Regions from separate parts of the Homo sapiens genome. Here region 1 is linked to region 2. The links are contacts of gene promoters, found by promoter capture Hi-C in blood cells and fetal thymus (Javierre and others, 2016). All regions are on one chromosome and are shown on one strand. The core of a region is centred on a gene start or on the middle of the fragment in contact, and the rest is flanking DNA. Distances in the headings are between cores, read along the strand shown. Region 1 holds the start of RCC2 (regulator of chromosome condensation 2). Region 2 holds the start of ALDH4A1 (aldehyde dehydrogenase 4 family member A1).

What was found. Contacts are between HindIII fragments. The CHiCAGO score rates a contact against its expected background, and 5 or more counts as called.
Region 1: a contact is called between a fragment that was not itself captured here and the fragment with the promoter of ALDH4A1 in region 2, in 3 of 17 cell types (fetal thymus, endothelial precursors and erythroblasts). The highest score is 6.3, in fetal thymus.

What each region holds. Positions count from the first base shown.
Region 1 is chr1:17,438,785-17,443,884 of GRCh38, reverse strand. RCC2 (regulator of chromosome condensation 2) reads left to right here and starts at 4,208. Exons shown (of 13, transcript NM_018715.4): 1 at 4,208-4,340. It overlaps LOC124903862 (a long non-coding RNA gene), which reads left to right and starts at 2,342. Exons shown (of 2, transcript XR_007065508.1): 1 at 2,342-2,427; 2 at 2,832-3,749. RefSeq lists a silencer at 3,969-4,108. The HindIII fragment of the contact is 440 bases long and covers 2,984-3,423 here.
Region 2 is chr1:18,899,983-18,904,791 of GRCh38, reverse strand. It overlaps ALDH4A1 (aldehyde dehydrogenase 4 family member A1), which reads left to right and starts at 2,237. Exons shown (of 15, transcript NM_003748.4): 1 at 2,237-2,330. The coding sequence starts at 2,269. LOC124903866 (a long non-coding RNA gene) reads right to left here and starts at 2,679. Exons shown (of 2, transcript XR_007065519.1): 1 at 2,540-2,679; 2 at 1,421-1,982. It overlaps IFFO2 (intermediate filament family orphan 2), which reads left to right. Exons shown (of 9, transcript NM_001136265.2): 9 at 1-512. RefSeq lists enhancers at 1,184-2,001, 1,941-2,170 and a silencer at 2,251-2,470. The HindIII fragment of the contact is 9,883 bases long and covers 1,941-4,809 here.

The DNA of each region.
Region 1 (5,100 bases), core at 1,954-4,453, 1.5 Mb after region 2:
TACCACCACGCCTGGCCAGATTCTGTGTTTCTGACAATCCTCCTACTGATGCAGATGCCTGTACACTTCCTGGCTATCCTATCTGCCAGCTGTGTGGCCTCAGGAGGCCTCAGCATCTCCCTGGGCTTCAGTTCTTCCGCTGGATATTATTTAGATGAACAAACATATATTGACAGCTTACTACACGCCGGGCTGCTCTGGGTGCTTGCTAGAAAAACAAAGATGAAGAAGCCACAAGCCAAGCCCAGGCATGCCTCACAGACAGAGAACTTAAAGGTCCAACTACAATATTTAAAGACTCTGCGTTTGAAAATTTCATGACTCATTGGCAGAAATAGGACGACCGGATCTGCATCTCCCAGAAAACATCTCTCCAAACACTATGACAGGGATTCCCCGCTGACTACTGTCCTCAGAATCAGGGAATACGAAATCCAGAAGTAACCTCAAGAGAAATTTAGCCCAAACTCTATCTTGCCATTTTACAGAGAGGAGAAACTAGAGAACAGATGCAGAAAGAGTGGGGTCTGGAGGAAATTACTGGTTTTCCAGCTATGCTTTCGAAGGCTGTGATGTCCAACAGGAATAACATATGAGCTACAAAAAACTTAATATGTAATATTAAATTTTGTGGTAGTCACATTGAAAAGAGTAAAAAGAAGCCAGGCACAGTGACACATGCCTATAATCCTAGCACTGTGGGAGGCCAAGGCAAAAGGATTGCTTGAGGTCAGGAGTTTGAGACCAGCCTGGGGAACATAGTGAGACCTTGTCTCCACAAAAAAATTTTAAAAATTAGCTGGGCGTGGAGGTGCACGTCTACAGTCTCAGCTACTAGGGTGGCTGAGGCAGGAGAACTGTTTGACCCCAGGAGGTCGAGGCTGTAGTGAGCCAAGATGGCGCCACTACAGTCCAGCCTAGGTGACAGAGTGAGACCCAGTTTCCAAAAAAAAAAAAAGAGAAAGAATCGTTTCCATTGGTTAGCGCATCACTCCCAGGATCACTGGTTTCATTTTTATAGACACTGGATCAGAAAATTAATCTTTCAAGTACAGGTGTAGCTTTCTGTAGCCAAGTTGAATAGAATTACACTTCTGAGGCTGGGCACAGTGGCTCACGCCTGTAATCCTAGCACTTTGGGAGGCGAAGGCGGGCAAATCACGAGGTCAGAAGTTCAAGACCAGCCTGGCCAACATGGTGAAACCCCGTCTCTACTAAAAATACAAAATTAGCTAGGCGTGGTGGTATGCGCCTGTAATCCCAGCTACTTGGGAGGCTGAGGCAGGAGACTGCTTGAACCTGGGAGGTGGAGGTTGCCACCACTGCACTCCAGCCCGGGTGACAGTGCGAGACCCCACCTCAAAAGAAAAAAAAAAATGAATTATACTTCTGAGGCTGTGCACAGTGGCTCACCCCTATAATCCCGCAACTTTGGGAGGCTGAGGTGGGAGGACCACTCGAGACCAGCCTGGGCAACAGAGAGAGACCTTGTCTCTACAAAACATTAAAAAAGAAAAAAAATTTAGCCAAGTGTAGCTGTCCATGCCTGTGGTCTCAGCTACTTGGGAGGCTGAAGCGAGAGGATCGCTTGAGCAAGGAAGGTAGAGGCTGCAGTAAGCTGGGATCATACCATCACCCTTCAGCCTGGGTGCTGGAGGAGCAAGATTCTATCTAAAAAAATAAAAAAAAAAAAAAAAAAAAGAAAGAAAAAATCACACCTCACCCCTGGAAAAGAACTTAAGCGTAGCTGAATCTAACTTGCAATATGATTTTGCTGAAGATGAGGTTAAAGAGTGACGGCAGGCTGGCACTTGCAGCCACATTTCCAAAATTCTGGGTGTAAAATGCTCAGCACAGTGCCAGACACCTGTGCCTCAAAGTGTCAGAGAAATCTCAGCCACCTTCTTTCCCTTCCCCTCTCCCGGTTTTGCACCAAACCATCCTGTCCCTGGAGAATTTGCTCAATTAGAAGCGAGGTGAAATTCCAAGCACAGTTTGAAGGAGGAAGTGTCATTTTCAGCTTGCCTGTAGGTGCACCTCACTATGTAACATTTGTTACATAAGTGGCAGCATGACACGCCTAACTGATGAATGTCTGTTGCACACCCAATTCCAGCCGGGAGAGTCACGCAGGCTTTCCCTGGGAGAATAGTGGTGTGGAATTGAGGCATGGAGTTGCAAAAATTACTTTTGTCTTCTGACAAGTAGGGCCAGTTCCAGGGTGTTATACCCAAAGTGCTTTTCTACTGCAGCATAACCTCAAGAAAAACCAGTTTCAGGAGCACCACACCTAGGATCAGATGATGCAATATGATATTAGCGTCTCATTGCATCAGTGTGTCTGAGGCATGAGTCTTTTAAGCTGGCAAAAAGCATTATAAAGGGGCAGGAGAAAAAAGGAAAAGACTTGCAGACTGAAATCTAAAGGTACTGTCAGTGGTGTTCCTAATTGGCCACACAGGGTGTTTAGAGGATAAACACCCAGCCACCCGCCTCGGCTGACAAGCATCAGCATGCCATTTCCTGAAGGGGACTTGATGGCATATTTAGGCGAAATTCTTTTCTGGTTGGTTCTACTTATGCTTTATATCAAAGCGTCAAAGTTTAACCTCTAAAAAATCTTTTTAAATGCAGGTCTATTAAGAATAGGCTTTCAAAGGGTGCTTCTATTCCATCTTGACTTTTCTGAAAATCTCTGAAACGTACCAGTTGATTTCTCATTTCCAAAGTTCTTTTACATAAGCACTCTCAGCTCTCTTGACACACAGACTTTTGACTTTGATCAAATACCTTAGATTTGGGCCTCTTGGTTTCTCTGTCTTCCTTTACAGGACACTTGATGCTTCCCAGTCCTGTTTCTTGCACTAACAATGAATGAATGAATCACAAAAATCCTAGAACTTTATGCGTTTTCAAGAAGTTGCCTGAAGAAGGAACTTCCTTGTGCGGTACGCCTCAGGAAAAAAGAAGCAGGAGAAAAGCTTTGAGAGGAGAGCAAGTGACGGTGAGATCGTAATGGAAGTGGGGTGGAGAGGTGGAGGGTGGAGACCGGTAGGAAGCAAGCAAGGCTTTTTTCACCCGTCCCAGGACACGCGAACGAGATCAAGCCTCACTGCGGTTCACTAGGGTCTATGCAGGCCCTCGCACCCCTGCCTACCTCCTCAGAACCCAGCCTCTTGGCTCTTCTCACCCCAGCCCCACCAGACAGCTTCCCTCCCAGGAGGTGTCTCTCAAGATCTCGAAATGTGGAGCGTCCCGTTCACTCCACCTGGCCTGGAATACTTTTCCTGCCCCCTTTCATCGGGTCTTATTCATCCTTTAAGTTGTTCAGCATAACTTTCCACCTGAATGCCTTCCCTGGCCCTGGACTAGGATAAATCCCCTCGCCATAATGTTCCTACACAGGCATCACTTTGTAAAGCTTACCACTGTTGTAATTACTTGTTTACTGATCTGTCTTTCCGTTAGGCTGTGCGTTCCACTGGGGTGGAAACCTTGTTCACTGGCTCTGCAGCCCCGGGCACTGTGGGTCTTGCATGTACCGGGGGCTCAGTAAATATTTGGCAAAAAATGAAAAAGTTCCCCTCAAAGCCAGCTTCCAGTGCCTCCACGGCCCTCAAATTAATTATGAATTAATTCACTAATACAGCAAACCTTTATGTGATTCTTCCGTGTCACAGCACCTTGTTACATACTGAGGACACATCCACAGGCAAATAAAACTCAGCTTCTCTCTGCACAGGAAAAAATTATTCAAATTGTATTCATCTTTCATTCCAATCACTCAATTAGGGCACGTCCCTTGTTGGCTGCTGCGTGAGCGAAGTAACTATTTTCCAGCGAGTGTCCTCATGTGACCTGTCTAGACGTGCCCAGGAAAAACAATCCAACATCCTCCTAAGCCGCAAAGAAGTCCCTGACGCGCAGGCCGCACTGCGTGGAAGGCCCAAAGCGCGCTCGCGGGCCCGCGAAAGGCGCAGGAGCAGCGGAGCCGAGGCGGGCGGCGAGGCGCGCGGCGCGCGGCGCAGGCTCGGGTGGGCAGGGCAGGGCCAGGCCGGGCGGGGCGGGGGCGCCGGCAACGGGTCCGCCGGCCGGCAGGGGGCGCGCGCGCCCCGCGCCCCGCGCCTCCCGCCCCGCCGCGCGCTCGCTTGCCGCGCGGCCGCACATGTGTTTCTGTTTTGTGTTGTAGCATTTGTTCTGGAAGCTCGTATTTACATTTTAAGTGTATCTGGTGAGTGGGCTGGAGCCCTCGTCTGGGCCGGAAAAAAAAAAGCCCTCCGATCCGTCTTTTAGTTGCTTCTCTTCCTTTTTTCTCTCCGGTTTCTCATCACTCCAACCAGGTAGGGTCTGAAAATCGACAGTGATCAGTTTGTGGGGTCTGGGAAAGTTTTTTTTTTTTTCCTTTTTTTAAAGAGAAAAGGTTAAAAAAAAACCTGGGGGAGGGGGGCTGGGTGATTGAAGGAATAAAAAGAGGAAGGAAGGCGGATCCACGTGGTTTAATCGGAGACAGACAGAGATCCCATTGTTCAAAATCAATTAAAAAAAAAAAAAAAAGCAGACAGGGGAGAGCGCAGGGACGCCGGGGAGCTGGCGGCGGCCCTGGACACTTTGCAGTCGAATCGGAGACCGGCCGGGCCGCACGGCCGGCAAGGGGGCTGGGAGAGAGTTGGGCACCATTAAAGTTTTTATTTTTCGTGTCTGTGCGAGCAGGTGTTTGGGGCTGGGGTCCAGCTTTCTTCGGGCTCTTCCCCCGTCGCCGGGGGCAGTCCGCCGTAGGGATTCGGCTAACTAGAGCCCGAGGTCGGCACCCCTGAGCTGGGGCCGAACGGGGGTCCAGGGCTGATGCGGGGTGGGGGAGAGCGTTGCATTAAATGCCATGAGTGGGTTTGGGGGGAGACTGCGGAGACAAAAGCAGCAGGTGGGGTAGCCGGGGAGCAGGGGCTCCCTTACCACCCAGGTGCCAAGGGGGAATCCTGGAAGTGTCCCGAAGCCTTCTTTAATGAAAATCTAGGGGACTGGAGGCTGGTTTTACTTTCCCTTTACTTTTGGGGGGCGAGGTTGCAACTGTGATGCTTTGTGGGCAAACCTAACTTACGGATA
Region 2 (4,809 bases), core at 988-3,487:
GGGGGTTTCCTAGGACAGGGGTCTTCCCCCTTGAGACACCAAGCTCTGGCTCTAGAAGAGCTCTCTCCTGGAGTGGGGAGTCTGGAGGGGACTGGGTGGGTGCAGGTAAAGCCAGATTCTCTCTGGAAGGGAATTTTCTATGAATGGATGATTTCCAGGCTCAGGGTGGGCTGTGTGTTAGTTCTGAGCAAATCCCTCACCAAGACCCTTCCCTCCCAAGCCCTCAAAGAAATGAGGCAAAGCCCTTCCCTGCAAGACCCCTTGTGGATGTTTTTGCATCTACCTGATTTTTAGCCCCACCCAGGGAGACTTTATACCCCATGATCCTGCCCCACCGTTGCTGTTGTCTGCCAGCTGGGTCTAGCATCACAGGGAAGGGGGGGATTTATACTCATGGAAAGACTACTGATCCTACCGGAAACCAACCTGTTTACTGTACTGTTGTAAATATCATGCCCTTTATATCCTGTATATTGGCTTCTTTTAAATAAAGTGAAATGTCTTAGAACTGATGGTGCTTTTTTTTGTTTTTGTTTTTAAACAGAAGATGAATCTGGTGTTGGGGGAGGGGTAGGAGGACGGAAGGCCACAGAAACCCTCAAACTCATTAGTTAATTAGCCATAAAATAGGGGATTTCATATCACCTGTTACATTTGTAGCTCACAATAAAAGCTTTGGAAGATGACAAAGCAGGAATCATTACACACATTTTACTGAAGGGGAAGAGAGGACATGAGACATCACAGGCTCAGTAACTGGCTTGGCCTGGTTTGGAACTGATGTCCTTTTAACCACAAAGCCCCCATTTTTCCAGGCTCTCCAACGTGCCCACAGGAGGTCACCTTCCCAGGCTCTGGATTTGACAGTAACCAATGTTCTAGTTTTTCTTGTCAATGGGCATGTTCAGGGCAACATTGCCCAAATGTGAACTGAGCCCACCTGTCTAGGGTTTTCTCCAAAGGTGAAGACAAATAGCCGCCACCAATTCCAATTTGCTTTTTGCCATTCCTAATACTTGGCATTTAGGTAATCTCCCTCTCCTACTCTTCATTTAAATGTTTACATTCTCCCAAAGTACCTCAAATGGTGTAATCTGGAGAAAAATAAGTGGCTTAAGATCACGGGGGCTTTGTGAGTTGGGTACTATTACTTCCGTTTTACAGATGAGGAAACTGAGGCCCGGAAAGGATATGTAGTCTGCCTAGTGCCCTGCTTGAGGAACCAAAATCAGCATGGGAACTGACTCCTAAGCAGGTGCGCGGTTCATGCTGCTGGAAGAAATATAAACAAATTAGAACAGAGAGTAAGGAAACGTAACATTACTTTAGGAATAGATTGGGTCCCTGAGACCTCGTCATCAGAGAAGACTTCAGAATCCAAGTTTTAAATAGCATTCTAGTGTTTACCAAGCACACAACATTTTGCAAAGAAAGCTGAAATTTTTACTTGGGGGTAAAAGGCTCAGGAACAACTGGTTTTGCGGCCAAAGGCTTTAAATGAAAAGCTAAGCGTTGGCCAGCTCAGGTTTTATCTTGCATTGATCGTAATCTGCAAGGAAGCTAAGAAGCTGGCCGGCCCCGCGCCTGGAGGGTAGGTGGAGAGCGGCTGGGTCCTGGCCAAGAAGCTGGAAGGCAGGCTCATTCCAGGGGCCGCAGCCCCCGGGAAGAAGCAGGGGGCTGGCCGCGCTGTGGCCCTGCGGGGTCGAGGAGTCTGGTAGCGGACAGGTTTCCAGCCTTGTACAAGCCACCGGCAGCCCGAGAGAAGTCAGTCGGACTCCCATCGAACCCGGGGCGCACGCCAGAGGGCCGGACGCAGCGAGTCCTTCTGCCCCGCTTCAGCACGTGTCCCATTTCGGTTATCTCATTGGCTCTATTCAGCCCCTCTCTGCTCCGCTTTGGAAGGCTGCCGCAGGACCGCCCCGCTGATTGGTTCAGAAGCTTTGGTGTGTCACTCTGACTGGTCGACAGAGTTCACGCCCTCTCTCCCGGGTCATACCATAAAGAGAGGAGGGGAAAACGCATGCATTTCAGGACTTCGCTTTCGGGTTCCCTTGTCCTGTGTTGTGTAATGCCCCCGTTATGGCACTAGAAATATTTTTTATTAGCCGAAGCTAAATATAGTGGGACTTTGGCTGATCCCGAGCTCGGAGGACAGCCGGGGTGATCCGTTTCCCCCCGAGGATCGAGGTGGTGCGCTCTGGACGGGGTTGTGCATTCTCGCCGCGCCCGGGCGGACGATCCAGCGAACAGCCCCGCTTCTAACCCGAGATGCTGCTGCCGGCGCCCGCGCTCCGCCGCGCCCTGCTGTCCCGCCCCTGGACCGGGGCCGGGTGAGTGAGCACGGGGCCCGGGGCGGCCCGAGCGCGCGCCTGGGGCCCGGGAGCCTGAGAGTCACTGGGCGTCCCCCGCGCCGCACTCCCTCCCTGCCGGACCCCCAAGCTGCCTCGGTCAACGCCGGGTTCCTCAGGGGCTCCCCTCCGACCCCCACCCAGGCCTTTCTCCCACTGAGATCCCTTAGCCTCCTCCCTCAGGTAGTCACCTTCCTTTAGCGAGGGGACCCCTCTTCCCGAATCCTGCGACCGAGTAGGGTGCCTCGGTGGCCCTGCCGGTTCCCACGCTCGGAAAGTAGCCTCTGTAGTCACTCACCTCACTCCTAATACTGGATCTTCGCAATTTGCTGGCTTCCCCTGAGGGGCCCTTCTATTTTTAGCACACCACACATCTCACTTCCCCACCCTCGTCTCACGTTCAGTGTCCCCATCCCGCCCCGGATTCCCCGAGTCCTCTCCTTCTACCAGGATTTCTACCTCTCTCTTTTCCGCTCCCCACACACCCCGCCGCCCGTTTTTTTTTTTTTTTTTCAAGTTAAATGTTGGACAGAAAAAAGGATTCCTTTCTTCTTGTAGGTGGAATAATCATATTTATAGAGTGCTTATAATGAACCAAATGCTGGCCGGGCAATTGGCAGGTGTCTTATGAGGATTAAATGAGTTAATACATGGGGAGTGCACTGAACAGTGCCCAGCACAAAGGCAGCGCCCGGTTATTATTATTGCCACGATCATCATCATTATCACCTCTATTTAAACTTCTCACTCCTGTGAGGCAGGTCATTATTCCAAATAATGAAGAAACCCAGGAGCAGTTCAGGGGTGGACCTGCCCTTCAAATCCCGATTTGCAAACCTGACATTGTGGAGCCAGGTGCCTGGACCCTTGCCCACTCAATGACAAATATTCTCAGAGCCCCTCCAGCTCGGAGCTAGGTTTGGAGAGGTAGGTGGGACACAGACCCTGCCCCAGAGGGGTTCCTAGTCTGGTGGGGCTGCCCACCTGTGGATCAGCCCCCCCTCCCATTTGAGGTTTGTTTGCTTGACCCCTGGGGCTGTTAGTGGCAGTGTCTTTCCTGATGAGCTGTGCCCTTTCTGAGTTAATCAGTGGCCCTCTCCCTTCCCCCAAGGGATGGCATGGTGGTGCTCTGAGCACAAGTGAGTTGCAACACTGCTGTGTGTCCTCTGTGGGTGAAGAGGGGATAGGAAAGGGCGCAGGAAGAGGACATGGGACAGAGGGGTTCCTCTTCTAGGCTGAGACTGGGGCCACACTTGCCATACTCCCTGTGTGATCCCGTTTGCAGGCCTTCCCTGCACTCTGAGACTCAGGAAGATGGAGCTTATAGAGTCCTGTGTTTACTGAGTGCCTACTGTGAGCTGGTGCTCTGCCAAACACCCTAGAGATGAGGGGTACCCAGGGAATTTACATGGGGTGGGGCCTTTGAGGAGTTTTCGGCTTAATAGGGGAGAAATGCATAGGAAAACCCTCCAATATCTAGTAGAAAGCAATCCATATTCTAAAAGATAAGCCCATGATAACAATAATGATTATCAAGCAATCAAGCACCATGGGCCTAACACCGAGCCGGTAAGTACTGTCTCATTCCTGTATTATCATGGGAAACGATCTGCCATCAGAGATATATGACTGAAATTACATTTGGTCTAAATCCAGATTTATGCTCTGAATTATGAGGCCTCCTGAATTGAGAGGGGAAAGAGAAAGAGCATTTTGCAGCTGGTTCCCTGGGCTCAAGTTACCCCTTTGATACAGCAGCTGGCCGCATGCCCTAGACAGGATTTCTCAACCTCACCACTATTCGCATTTGGGGCTACATTTTGGTTGCTGTGGAGTCTGTCCTGTGCACTGTAGAATGTTTAGCAGCGTCTCTGGCCTTTACCCGCTGCATGTCAGGGGCACCCCCGGCCCTGACAATTACGAAAAAAACCCTGGCCCTGACAGGAAACACAAGTTCCCAGACATTGTCAGATGTTACCTGGGGGACAAAAGTCACCTCCGGTTGAGAGCCAGTGCTCTAGAGGAACAGCTTTGATGTTTGATCACTTGTTCATTTACTCAGTGAACATTTAGAGCACACCCGTGACATGCCATGTCTGCATTTATGGAGAAACAGTCGCAGGGCATTTTCAGTGACATCCCTCAGTGTCCTACGTGTAAAACTCTAGTCCTGAGAAAAACCGCTGCTTTTGAGGAACGGGTATAGGAGATGCTTCTTAGTGTTTTCTTTTTTGCCTTGAGTGCCAGGAATCTCTGCTAGTTTTAAAAAATACCCTTGATACATGTTTTCTTTTAGTTTAATACATGTCAACTGTGAAAAGTACAGATAAGGCAAAAAAATAGAAAAATCACCTGGAATTGTACCACACAGAGGTACCCACTGTTAACATTTTGATTCATGTCCTTTAACTTTCCATGAATAGATATGCTTTTAAAAAAAACCTCATAGAAACAAGCTCAT